Regions from separate parts of the Homo sapiens genome. Here region 1 is linked to region 2. The links are contacts of gene promoters, found by promoter capture Hi-C in human tissues and cell types (Jung and others, 2019). All regions are on one chromosome and are shown on one strand. The core of a region is centred on a gene start or on the middle of the fragment in contact, and the rest is flanking DNA. Distances in the headings are between cores, read along the strand shown. Region 1 overlaps AGBL4 (AGBL carboxypeptidase 4). Region 2 holds the start of AGBL4 (AGBL carboxypeptidase 4).

The links. Contacts are between HindIII fragments. The study calls those that stand out against the background at their distance.
Region 1: a fragment that was not itself captured here is called in contact with the fragment with the promoter of AGBL4 in region 2 in 2 of the 25 tissues and cell types used here (mesendoderm cells and thymus).

Annotation. Positions count from the first base shown.
Region 1 is chr1:49,781,892-49,788,719 of GRCh38, reverse strand. The region is part of intron 2 of AGBL4 (AGBL carboxypeptidase 4); the gene reads left to right. Among named protein-coding and RNA genes, the nearest start is that of AGBL4, 240 kb to the left of the region's middle. The HindIII fragment of the contact is 3,145 bases long and covers 1-2,883 here.
Region 2 is chr1:50,019,666-50,026,792 of GRCh38, reverse strand. It overlaps AGBL4 (AGBL carboxypeptidase 4), which reads left to right and starts at 2,839. Exons shown (of 14, transcript NM_032785.4): 1 at 2,839-3,030. The coding sequence starts at 2,997. LOC105378708 (a long non-coding RNA gene) reads right to left here and starts at 2,772. Exons shown (of 3, transcript XR_947311.3): 1 at 2,671-2,772. The HindIII fragment of the contact is 7,609 bases long and covers 1-6,631 here.

The DNA.
Region 1 (6,828 bases), core at 62-2,561, 240 kb after region 2:
GTGTTATTCAGAGCAGATATTTTGTAATAGTTTCTTTTTATTCTGATGTTTCTAATCTGTTTTTCAGCCCATTTCATGAATTTTTAAATTTCCATCATTGTAAGTTTTAGGTCTATAATTTCCATTTGTTTCTTTTTATAGATTTGAGTTTTCTGTATAAGATTCTCTATTTGTTCATTCTTTTATTCTTTGAAATTTTTTTAGTTATTTGAAGATATTTATAATATGCTCTTTGTTTCCAAAAGCCCAAATCTGGGCCATCTCGGTGTCCATCTGTATTGATGGAGTTTTTTTCTTTTCATTTTTCTTTGTATATCTAGAAATATTTTGTTATAAATTGGACATTGTAGATGTTTTTTGTAGAAATTCTTGGTTCTTTTTTTATCCTCTGTTTTTGTTCTAGTGTGCAGTTCAGTTTTTGGCTGATCACCTTGACATTATATAGACTTAGTTATGTGCTTTGTAAAGGCAGATCTGTGGAATGTCTAAGCGGTTTTCCAAGTGTCTGTAACTTGGGGCTTGTGCAGAAAAGAATTAACTCAGCATTTATGAGTTTCTCAAAGTTTGCATATCCCCAAGAAAAGTCCTTTGTGTGTGACTGACCTTTGCCTAGCTCCCAGAATGCTCTTAGAACTTTGCATATTCTCAAGAAGATCCTTTTTGTGTGACCGGCCTTTGCCTGGCTCCTTGAATGTCCTGATAGGAATGTTCTGCATGCTTGGTTTTTGGAAATATTGTACTTGCTTGTTTAGATAGTTTATGTAAAAAATATAATTTATGGTGGACATCTGCTTTTTTTTTTCTGGGGGTTTGGAAGTTCAGTGACTGACACCCCCTTCCCCGCAAAAAAGGCCCCTGGGTTTCTATGTGCAGGCGAGCTGGTAGGCAACAATTCTCATGTGTTGTCACAGTTCATTGTTGGAGGAATTAGGTGTGTCCTGTGTGACTTCACTGGGAAAGTGCTTTTAGAAGCTCCTGCCTGGTTTTCTCCAGACTTCACCCCGTGTGGTTTTCCCCTTTGCTGACTTTGCTTTGTGTCCTTTCACTGTAACAAACTGTAATTGAGCATAACTTATTCTGAGTCCTCTGAGTCTTTCTAGTGACCTATCAAACCTGAGAGTGATCTTGGAAACTCCCGACATAGTACTCAACCTACAAACTCTGTCTTTCCTCACGTTTTTGTCTGGGGTTGGTTTCAATTTTTTTTTTTTTTTTTTGAGACAGAGTCTCGCTCTGTCGCCCAGGCTGGAGTGCAGTGGCTTGATCTCGGCTCGCTGCAAGCTCCGCCTCCCAGGTTCACGCCATTCTCCTGCCTCAGCCTCCCTAGTAGCTGGGACTACAGGCGTCCGCCACCACGCCCGGCTAATTTTTCTGTATTTTTAGTGGAGACGGGGTTTTACCGTGTTAGCCAGGATGGTCTTGATTTCCTGACCTCGTGATCCACCTGCCTCCGCCTCCCAAAGTGCTGGGATTATAGGCGTGAGCCACTGCGCCCGGCCAATCTTTGTTAGGGTGCGTCTAGATTGAGTTGTAGTTTATCACGTGATATGTCCGCCCTTCTCTTTTCTCAGCTGGTTTCCAAGGGTGTTAGCGAAATGTTTAAAATGTCGCTATATGCAGGCTGGGCTTCATCCCCTGTTTCACTGTTACAGGGGGGACTTAGGGAGCGTGTCAGTGGAATCTTGTACAGTATTGAAGGAACTATAGAAACAAAACTACCTTTGAGAAGGCTTTAGGTGAAGGCATAAAGGAAAATGAGAAAAACCTTGTTGGAAACTTGATGAAAGAGGGTTCTTGTTATGTAGTGATGGAAAATTTACCAACACTGCCACTGCAGTAATGTAGAAAGTAGAAAGTGCACTGAGTGAACTGAGTGATGTAGCTGAGGAAATTTCTAAGCAGAATGTTGGAAACACTGCCTGTTTTTTTTCTTGATACCTATAGTAAAATTTGAGAAAAGGGAGATAAACTAAAGCAAGCACTGTTAAATATAAAGGATCCAGGGCTTTATGGTTTAAAAAATGTCCAGTATTTATAGATGACAAATGTTTCTAAAATTTATCATCTTAGGTAAAGATACAATTCAGGGCACTCTAGAAAAACTTTGTCTGGAGATGAAACTGAGGATGTGATTGTAAAATCCCTGGTTGAGACCTCAGAAAGATGAAAGGTGGTGCTTCAGAGTACTAAGTTGAATAAAAATCATCTAAATATTTTAAAGGTATACTTAACCTTTAAAATAAGTGTTCTCAATGAAACAATGGAAGCTTGTTAAGAAGCTCAGAGATATTGTTACTCAGCAGAAATTCAAGGTAGAAAAGTGTTTGTCCCAGAGACCCATAGAAACTGTGGGATAATAAATATTTCTTACTTTAAGGTGCTAAATTGTGAGATAATTGTATTATGCAGCAATAGATAGCTCATAACCGTAAGATAAAATGTTAAGTAGAAAAATGCTGTGACACTATATACATAGTTTGATCTCAGCCATGTAAAATATGAGTATTTGTAGAAAAAGATATGAAAAGGTTAGCTTCAGATGGTAGCGAGGATTCTCTCTGCATCATGGAATTTGGGGTATTTATTTTTTCATGTATTTATTTGTATTTTGCTATTCTTGTAATCCAGAAAACATTTCCCTTTGTTTTCTGGAATATTTTGTAAAAGCATCAATGGGATGGATAACGGTTTAGGTAATGTTCTGCTTTCATATTTGACAATGTCACTGACGCTAATGAGAAGACAGTCCTTTTTTCTTCCTGATACCTTTTCCCATAACGTAGGTGGGTCTAGCCTCAGGAAATATATATATATATATATATATATTTTTTTTTTCCTGGGATTTCTCATGTACTCTGAAATTGTGCATATTGATTTTTGGTGATTCTGAGAGGTATGTAATGACAACGCTCATTTTTGTAACACTTTTTTCTAGCCTAGGTTGTTGTTGTTCTTCCTATTGGGAAGATACAGAGAGGGCTAAATTTTGTGAGTAGGTGGCATATGGGATTAAAAGGAAAACCATTGGAAATAGTTTTCAACAGTTGTTAGTTGAAATTCAATTTGGGCCACAGAATTTGCAATAAGATTAAAAATCCCATTGTATATGTTTTCAGAACATCATTGTTATCATTGCCACCCTGAAATAGGATATTAATACCATAGTTGTGGAGTGGTATTAGTGGTATTCAGCAAATTTCTAATTGTAACAATAGTAATAAATGATTTAAAAAATTTCTAAATTAAAATTTTTATTTGTAATTGTCAAATAGTAATATATACTTATGGGGTAAAACACTTAGATATATGTATATACATTGTGGAATGATTATGTCAAACTAATTAACATATCCATCACCTCACATATTTGTCATTTTTTTGTAGAGAGAACATTTTAACATACATTCTTTTAGTAATTTTGTAACATACATTATCATTTCTAATGTCACCTTGCTGTGGGATAGATATTGAAACTTATTTCTCTTTGGTCAGATAGAAGCTTTGTACTCTTTGGTCAGGTTCTGTCTATCTCTCACCTTCCCACTCATCCCCAGCTACTGGTAGCCACCATTCTACTATCTACTTCTATAAATTCTAGTCTTTTAGAGTCACCTATAAAAAGTAAAAAATATAAATGCTTTGGTTTATTAAGTTGCCACTTTGCTTTCAGATGAATACTTTACAGATATTTTTCAAAACCTATAAATTACTCTGCATGTTAGGTTTAATTATCTTTGTTTTATGAGTAAGTAAACTGAGGTTATAATGCTATTATTTGCTTGGCAGAGCAAGGATTTGTGGTTATCCTATTGGGTGTGAAGAAGTATCTCATTGTGGTTTTGATTTGCATTTCATTAATCACTAATTGTGTTGAATATCTTTTAATGTATTTGTTTTCCATTTGTATATATTTTTTATTTTTTATTGGGTCATTTATCTTTTTATTATTAACTGTAAGAGTTCTTTATATGTGCTGGATATAAGTCTTTAAAATTATTTTCCTATTCTGTGGCTTGTGTTTTCATTTTCTTCATAGTATCACTTGTTGCACAGAATTTGGATGAAGTCAAATTTATCGTTTTTAAATTTTGTTACTTGTGCTATTGGTGTGACATTGAAAAATTATTGCCTGATCCGAGATCATGAAGACTTGCACCTATGTTTTCTTATTAGTTTTAGCTCTTACATTTAGATGTTTGATCTGTTTTGAGTTCATTTTAGTGTGTGGTTTGAGAAAGGGGTCTAACTCCATCATTTGTGGTTTGAGGAAGGGTTCCAACTGCATAATTTTGTGAGTAGATATCCAGTTTTTCAGTATAGTTCATTGAAGAGACTTGTTTTCTCTATCAAATGGTCTTGGCACCTGTGTCAAAAATCAATTGACCATAAATGTAAGGATTTATTTCTGGACTCTCAGTTCTATTCCATTGATATAGATGTCTATTCTTATGTCAGTACCATATTGTATTGATTACTGTAGCTTTGAAACAAGTTTTGAAATAGGGAAGGGTGCAACATGCAACTTTGTTCTTCTTTTGCAAGGTTATTCTGACTGTTCTGAGTCCCTTGCATTTCTATATAAAGTTTTGAACAAAATTGCCAATTTCTGCAAGAATAGCAGCTGTAATTGTGTTTGGGATTGATCAATCTCAGGAGTACTGCCATCTTAATATTAAGACTTTTGATCTATGACCATGAGATATCTTTACATTTATTTACATTTTCTTTGTTTACTTTTCACAATATTTTGTAGTTTTCAGTGTACAAACCCTTACATTTATTTTGTTAAATTTATTCCTAAGTATTTGTGATGCTCTTGCCAATGTAATTGTTTTCTTATTTTCAATTTTAAATTATTCATTCTAGTGTATAGAAATACAATAAATTTTTTTGGTGTGTTGATATATCCTACAACTTTGCTGAATCCATTTTTTAGCTCAAATACTTTTTTTATTGGATTCTTTAGGATTTTCTATATATAGTATCATGTTATTTGCAAATAGAGATCATTTCATTTTCTCCTTTCTACTGTGAATGCCTTTTATTTCTTTATTCTTGCCTATTTGCCCTGGTTAGAACCTTCAGTACAATGTTGAATTCAAGTGGTAAGAACTGACATCCTTATCTTGTTTGTGATATTAAGGGAAAAGTAGCCGTCTTTCACTATTAAGTATGATATTAGTTGTGGGCTTTTTAGTAGAAGCTCTTTATCAGGTTGAGAGAGTACCTTTACATTCCTAGTTTGTTGAGGGGGTTTGATTTTGACGGATACTTTTTATGCATCTATTGCAATGACCATTTGATTTTTTTTGTCCTTTACCCTATTACTGTGGTATATTAATTTATTTTCAAACAACCTTGCATGCCTGGAATAAATTCAATTTGGTAATGATATCAATCCTTTTTATATTTTGCTAGATTTTGTTTGCTAGTGTTTTGTTAATGATTGATAAAAGATATTGATCTTTAGTTTTCTTTTCTGGTGATATTTTTATGAGAAGTTTGAAAATACTAATTCATTCTTTATCTTAACCAGTTCAGGCTGCTATAATAAAATACCATAGACTGGGTTGCTCATAAACATCACATACTTATTTCTCATAGTTTTGAAGGTTGAGGAGTACAAGACCAGGCATGAGCAAATTCAGTGTCTGGCAAGGGCCCATATGTGGTGCCTTCTTGCTATGTACTGACATTATGGAAAAAAAAAAAACAGGTTTCTGGGGCCTCTTATATAAGGGCACTGTCTTAGTCTGTTTTGTGCTGCTATTATATAACAGAATATCACTGACTGAATAATTTGCAATAAACAGAAATTTATTGGTTTATGGCTCTGGAAGCTGGAAAGTCCAAGATTGAGGGGCGAGCATCTGGCAAGGGACTTCTTGCTGCATCATCTCATGGCAGAAGGGCAAAGAGAGTGCAAGAGAAAAGAACAAGGAGACAAAAAAGAACTGAACTTGTCCTTTCATAAGGAACTGCTTCTGCAGTAATGCACCCACACCCATGATAATGACATTAACCCATTCACTTCACACTCTTGGCCTAATTACCTCTCATTAGACCCCACTTACCAACACTGTGCATTGGCTATTAAGTTTCCAACACGTGCTTTTTGGGGGAACACATTTAAACCATAGCAGACACTAATCTCACTCATGAGAACTTCTACTTACTTCTTAAAGATGCTACCTCCTAGTACATCACATGGAGGATTCGGATTTTAACCTGAATTTTGGGAGGGACAGAAATGTTCAGACAATCTTAATCTTTTTATCATCTATAGATGCATTCATATTTTATACTCCTTCTTGAGTCTGTTTTGATAGTTTGTGTATTGCTAGAAACTTCTTTATTTTATCTCAGTTATTTAATATTTTGGCAGACAGTTGTTCATAGTATGATCTTATAATTCTTTTTATTTAAGGTTGTTAGTGATGCCTCATCTTTTTATTCTTAATTTTAATAGTTTGTGTCTTTGTTCTTTCTTGGTCATTCTAGCTAAAGTTTTTGGTTTTTGTTGATCTTTTCAATGAACTAACTTTTGGTTTTATTGACTTTCTTTCTTGTTTTTCTAGCCTCTGCTTCATTCATTTATACTCCAATCTTCATTATTTTCTTTCTTCTGCTTGCTTTAGATTAGTTTGCTCTACTTTTTCTAGTTTCATAAGGTGATGCTTATGTCATTGATTTTGAGATATTCTTATTTAAAAATATAAGAGCTTAAAGTTATAAATTTCTCTCTAAGCACTGCTTTAGCTGTACCCTACATGTTCGTTGAAATCAAAGTATTTTCTAATTTCCCTTGTAATCTCTTTTTTGACCCAT
Region 2 (7,127 bases), core at 1,590-4,089:
AACAAGGCTTGGAAAGAAGTTTATGCCATGAAGGGTCACAGGGGAAACACCAGGTTTTGGTTTGGTGTCAGAACACAGGAGCAAGGGGAAATCCTAGGCCAAAGCCTTTATTGGGATTTCTGTGAGAATCGCAAGGTAGAGCAGAGTAAACATTTAGGATTGGCTATTTTGAATACTTCTGGTGGGCTGTGGCTATAGATGCCCATCAAGGGGATCTCTCTTTAGTGCTCCTCCACTTTGCTGAGCATGCCTGTGTCATTGCTCTTACCACATTGTTTGGAAATTAATTGTAAACTGAATTTGTGCATGTTAATCCTTTCTTTCCAATTAGTTTGTAAACTTCAAAGGCATGGTATTTTTGATGTGAAAATTACATGAGATAACACAGATGAATTTCCTAGCATAATTTCAGTCTTCCCTGAGTCTGCTACTTTCTGCCTGAAACTTTGTATAAGTCACTTAAACTCTGTGAGCCTCAATTTCATCTTCTGTACAAGAGGCTGATATTAATACAAATATCATAATGCTGCTCTGAGAATGAAATGAGTTTGTGCTCGTAAAAATATGATTATAAATTAAATATTTCTCTCATTCCATTCTGCATCTAACTTAGTGGCCAGGCACATGGAAGGTATCATTTTAATGAATGTTTATGGAGGGAGTGGGTGAATCCTACAGGGTATATTTTGCTTGAAAGAAGGCACCCTTGTTGTGGGTGGGTGTTTTCTGTGGAGACAGAAATCATAGGAGGTCTCTGGGGAAGACAGACCTCCCAGGGACATATGAATGGTAGCACGGGGAAACTAATTCCCAGGAGCCCATGTAGGGGACGTTTTCCCCCCACTTCCCATGCTGTGTTATTTTTCACACAACAAAAGGGAAGTCTCTGAAGACTCCAGCAGTAGTGAAGAAGTCTATACTCCCTCCTGCACTGCTTCCTGAGGAATAGCTGACACAGAGGAGAACCGAACCTGGTCCTGTCAGCAAGCTGGTTTTCCAGGCTTTTCGTCTCCTCTGCCCAGTAAGGCATTTGTCTATCAATTCTGACTAACAAAACTTTCTGCAGTGATGGAAATGTTCTATACATATGTTGTCCAATATGGTAGCCAGTAGCCACATGTAGCTATTGAGCACTTGAAAAGTGGCAATTCTGATTAAATAACTGAGTTCTAAATTTTACTTAAAATTTAAATTGACCAATGTGGTTCAATTTAATAATGTTATATTTGTCTCTTTATCCTCAGCATCTGCACAGAGCCTGGCTCATACTCATCAAATGCATTTTCATTCATCACCCTATTTGTGTCTTAGAGCTACTCTTTGTGGTAGGCAGGACCTTTGTCTCAGTTTGTTGGAAGAGGAAACTGAGGCTCAGTAAGTTTAAGTGATTTGCCCAAGATTATAAAGCTATAACATCAGTCTGAGTAGAACCCACATCTTTCTCTTTATTTTTCCATCTCCCTATACTTAATGTAGTTCTTTTGTTCTTCTTAGCCCTTATTGACTCCTCCGACACCGAAATTCCCAAAACCCTCACAGCCTTTACATAAGTGTCATTAGGACTGTGGAAAGCACATATATATTCATCTTGATAGTTGTGTGGACATGGCTTGTGAATTTTAAACTGTTCAAATGTGAGAGATAATTCTGATAGCTATTTTCATGTAACTTTCTGTACAAGATTCTTATCCCTGATTTTAATGCAGATGAATGGACAGTTCCATGCATGTGGCCAGCATCTTACTTAGAAGGCCTTCCGGTCCGTCTCTGCATTTCTGCCTCAAGGCTTTCTCTCAAACTCTAGAAGTCTGCTCAGCCCTGGCAAGCATAACCAGGAAATGTGAGAGAGTTCAAGCTGGAAGGTGGAGAGCAACCCTCAACCAATGGAGACAGAAATTAGGAGACAAATGCCCCAGACTCTGTGTTCTTCAGTGGGACAACGGCAGGCACACATTCTACCCTGTTTTTCAGAGTCTGAAGCAAGATTAAAAATAGTTGTCTACTAAAGCAATCAGCTCAATAACACATTTTTCTTAGCGTTTTTCCCCCTTCCCTCTTTCACTCTCTCCACCTCATTTCCTTTCAGATTACCACCATTTTCCATTCAGCAGACATTGACTGAGATCCTACTTTGTGTCATGCACCACGCTGCACTATGGAGTATACAAAGATAAGAGAACAACCGTAGGTATCAGAGAGCTCATGGTCGAGAAGGAAATAATGCATAAAGCATTTGGAATAGAGGGAATATACAGGGGACTGCGGGAGGGCAGAGCTGGTCAGGACGGGTAATGTTCCAGCTTGGTTTTAGACGATAACGGCGTGTCACTACTGAAAGGTGGGAAACAGCAGCCCATATTTACTGAAAAATACGTCAGCAAAAGGATAAGTCTTTTCTGGGGTTGAGGGTTGCTGTCGCAGAGGGGCAAGGAGCCAGAACCCTTTGGGCCTCTGTGTGTTTGGGTTGGGGTGGGCACACAGTTGGTTTTCAGTGCATTTCAGTTGAAGACGAGTAACCCAGGCAAACCAAGGGGAGAAGCTTTGGGAAATCAAGAAACCTGTCCCAAGTCCCCAAAGTTGAGCACCAACCACAGAAAAGCCAGTTTAGCTAGTCTGGGCGGTCAGTACGAGGACCCCGGTCGCCGTCAGGAAAGCGCCATCCCTACAGACCTGGCCCCTGTGCTCTAGGGGTGGCGGAGCCTGCTCAGTTGCCAGGATGCGGTGGATCGGTTGCGGAGGAGCAGCGCCCCGGGGCCCAAGTCCCAGCTCAGGCCCGGGCTCGCGCCGCGGGGGCGGGGCCTTGGACGCACGCTCCTCCCAGGCGTCCCTCCCGCCCTCAGCCGCGCGCCGGCCACCCGCGCGCCTGCCGCCCGTTGCCCAGGCAACCGTCGTGCCGCGTCTTCCTGAGGTAGCTCCTGTCAGCCCACTGATCCCACCACCCGCTCCCTACTGCCCCGCGGTCTTCGCGTGAGCTCGGAGACTGAGGGACAACAAAAATGGCGGAGGGGAGCCAGTCGGCGCCTGAGGCAGGTCTGTGGGGGCGGCCGATCTGGGGAAGGCTGAGGCGGCCAGGCTGTCCTGGGTCTCAGGCAACAGGGGACTCGGGCATGGTCCTACTCCTGAGGAGGCGGTCCTGTATATTTGCGCGGTGGGTTATGACTTCAGGGTCAGGGGTCAAGGGTGGCGTGCACCCCTCTGAATGGCGGGCAGGGACCTCGAAGTCCGGGTGGTGGAGGGGAGTGTGGGTTAGTGTGCACACTTCTGACAGAACATGGGCCCGAAAGGGGCTGGGACCTGAGGGAAGAGACAGGATCTTAATCCTGGGATCACCTGTGGTGAAGGCTAATCCTAGGGCTAGGCTGTGTCATGGAAAGGGTGTACACTGCCCTGTGGGAGCATGGGAGAGATCCCTAAAGGGGCATGATTTGGGCTCGGGGTGGGAGTAGGAGGCTCTGACTCTAAAGAGGGAGGTATACGTGGAAGGTGTGTTACTTTAATATCAGACAGTGCCATGGAAGGGGGAGTTAGAGTATTTGTGTTTGGGGATGTGCAGTGTCCTCAGGGTCACTCCTGGTCACAGAGAAATTTATGCAAATAATTCTTGTATGGGTCCTTAAAAAGACAAGAGGCCTTGAGGGGATACCCGGAGCCCCAGTCCTTTAGGAGCCTACCAAAGGAGGCTGGAGCGTGAGTGTGAGTGTGTGTGGGTTCAATGATCTTGAAGGTCATTCAGAATCAAAGGAGTGCATGTCCACACTTCTGTGGGTAGAAGATAGCCTTTAAGGGACAGGAAGACTGACAGGAAGGGAGACCCAGGATCCTATTCCTGAGGGGACCCCTTGTGCATATGGCTGGGATTTGTGAGATACTGACTTTAAGTTTCTCACAGGGTCATAGAAGAAAGCAAAGGTTTTTACAGTTTTGAGTATGTGGGAGGGAGTTTGCCTCTAAATGAGGCTGACCACTGAAGAACTGGATGTTACGGGATGGCATGGGTGTGTGGGTAGAAAAGAAGTGGCTTTGGGAATATGTGTGTGATGGGTGTTGGCAGTGGTATACATAACCTTGTATATATGTCCTGATCAGGTATTATCATTACAAGAGTGATCCACTTGAATTACTTTGGTCCTGGTGTGTGTGTGTGTGTGTGTGTGTGTGTGTGTGTGTGTGTGTGTGTGGTTATGGTACATACACACCACACCCCAGAAACTGGAACTGAAAACTATGACACCCTCAGAAATAAGTTCGAGGAACCATTATGTCTCAAGGCCTTCATTATTTCTCTTTCTTTCATGGCACCTCTGTTTTATTGAGTAGCTCCTCTACTCATTTTATAGTTTTAGCTCCCTCATAACTTGAACAGGCTTATTCCTTTATTCATTCATCCACTCAACAAATATCGAGTGCTAACTATATGCCTGGCAATAAGTTAGGCATTGGAAATTCCCTGCTTTGGATGAGCTTACCTTGTTCTTCTTTTCCTTTTTTTCTCATAGCATTTATTGCCTTTGAACATACTATTTAATTTACTTGCTTGTATTGCTTATTTCCTGTCTCCTTCCACTACAATGTAAGCTCTACAAGGGCATTGTTTTATCAATACCACATGTCTAGAACTTTTCTAAGTGTATAGTATGTTCTCAATAAAGATTTCTTAAATGAATAACTGAATTACTGATATTGTCTGGAAGTGATATTTTAGCTGACATATGATAGGGATTGGATAATTGAAAAAAAGGGCAAAGAGTGGTCGAGGCAGCAGGAAAACCATGTGCAAAGAACCCAAGCAGGTGGAAACATGTTATGCTGTGTTTGAGGAACTGAAAGGAGACAAGTGTGGGTACATGTGGGGCAATGGGAAGAGAGAAGAGGTACGCTGAAGCCAGATCTTCCAGTACTTTGTAGAATATGATATGAATTTGGGTCAGAAATCCTAAGAATAATGGGAAGCCATTGAAGGCTTTTAAGTGGGAGCATGCCATGATTAGAATAATTAAAAAATAACTCTGGCTACAATGTGGAGAGTACAGAGGATACAAGAGTGGATATAGGATATACTCTCCACCAGCTACATTGAGGAGAGTACAGAGGATACAAGAATGCATATAGAGAGACCTTAGAAGGTAGCAGTGGAGATGAAGAGAAGGAATTGAGAAATACTTAGGAGATAAAATTAATAGGACTTAGTGAAATATGAGGATGATGGAGAAGGAAGTATCGAAGACTACTTCTCATTTTCTAATTTGTTCAACTGGATAGTTAGTGGTGCCATTATTGGGATAGGGAGCATTGGAAGGGGCCTTGGGTAGGTGTGAGAGGAAAGATCATTAATTTGGTTTTAGATAAGTGGAGATTGAGGTATCTTTAGGACATCCAGATAAGCAGAGAGATTGACAAGGCAGTTGAATTTACAAGAAAAGTGTAAACTGGCATAGAGATAATTATTTTGACATAGAAATAATTACTCAAGCCATGGGTGTGGATGAAATTGCCTAGAGGGAGAAGAGGCCTGGGATGAAGTGTTGAGTAGCTGCAATATTTCAATGCCTTCCAAAGAGACTGAGAAGGTGCGACTGGAGAGATTAGAGCACAGCTAAAGGAATGTTTCAAGATAAATGGAATACTCAGTAGACTGAATGCTGCCAAACAATATAAAATGAAGGGCTAAAAAACTAGATTTAGCAACAGAGAGGTCATTGGTAACATTGATGGTAGAAAATTGATGATGGTAAAAAGCCAGGTCATTTAGGCAAATAATGCCTCAGTCTTTGTTTAATTCAAATTTCTGAGAGAGATAATTTTATTGACCCTTATTGTCTTTTACCACTAAATCACAGTCCAGTGTCAGGATTGACTGGTTTTAGATTAGGTGTCCAGCTATTGCTGGCTGGAGTCACCTGATACAAAATATGGCCATCTGGTAATTTCTTAATCTCACTTGAAATAGCCAACATTTATGAAGTGTTTATTTTGTACCACGCATTGTACTAAGTGCTTTATACATTTTACTTCAGTCTCATAACAACTCTTTAAGGTATTCTCTATGTTTTATATGTGGAGAAGTTTTGGCACGGAGAAGTTGACAACTTAATTAAGATCTGCAAAGAATTAGTAGAAGATTAGTTTTTTTGACAATTTAAATGTTACCCAGATTCATTATTTGGCTTTGTGTTTGTATTACAACATACTACGTTCTGAAGAAATCATAGCCATGATGAAAATCCCTGCCTTACAGGAAATATTCTAAACTAAGCATATTCTAACAAGGTGAAATGGAAAGAAATGGGCTCAGATCCTTGTGTAAACCCTACTTTTGTGACTGTGACTTATTATATGTGGACCTTGGACTCAAGTTTTATGATCTTCAGTTTCCTCATTTGTAAAATGGGGATGATATTTGCAGGATAGCTGTGAATATTAGAGATCATATACTTGAAGTGTCCAATAAATGTTATGTCCGTAGTTCACTTGAAGCTTGAATATAAAAAATTTCAAATGTATTGCATATACTTTACATATAAAAGAAATTATATAAACATACAATGATGAGTATAAGAAATTCTGTTTTTTCTTCATTGGTTTTTCACTGCTTTGCTGTCAGAAGAAAGGCAGACATTAAGTTTTGGAGAATGTAGAATTGTTACCTGAACTGTGTATCATGGGACCGGTCTCTGTGTGAGGTAGATTTTGAGGAATTTCTTGGAGGAATAAGGGACACTTAAGATATCTTAAGCATGCTTTTATATGTAAAGTATATGCAATACATTAGAAATTTTTTATATTCAAGCTTCTTACAGAGCATGTAGATAGCTCTGTAAGAGGGTCAGATTTATAAAAGGAAGTTTCTTCTTTTAAATCTTGTGCTTTAAAATGGGGACACAAATGTCAGGACTTTTTCCCTATAAATTTGATTATCAATACTAATAAAAAAGAAAACCTTACAGTTAATTACATGTAGGAGTATTAGTCTCATGCTAGATTGCACCTGCTTCTTTTTCTTAGCTTCTTCTCCCTCTCTTCCAGCTATCTTAAAAAAGCTTTTATTTTAGTTACCCGGTAAAATAATTTGTTTTTCTATTTTGTCAAGTTATTCTGTGGAAGCCCATGTAGGCAAACATTTTTTTAAA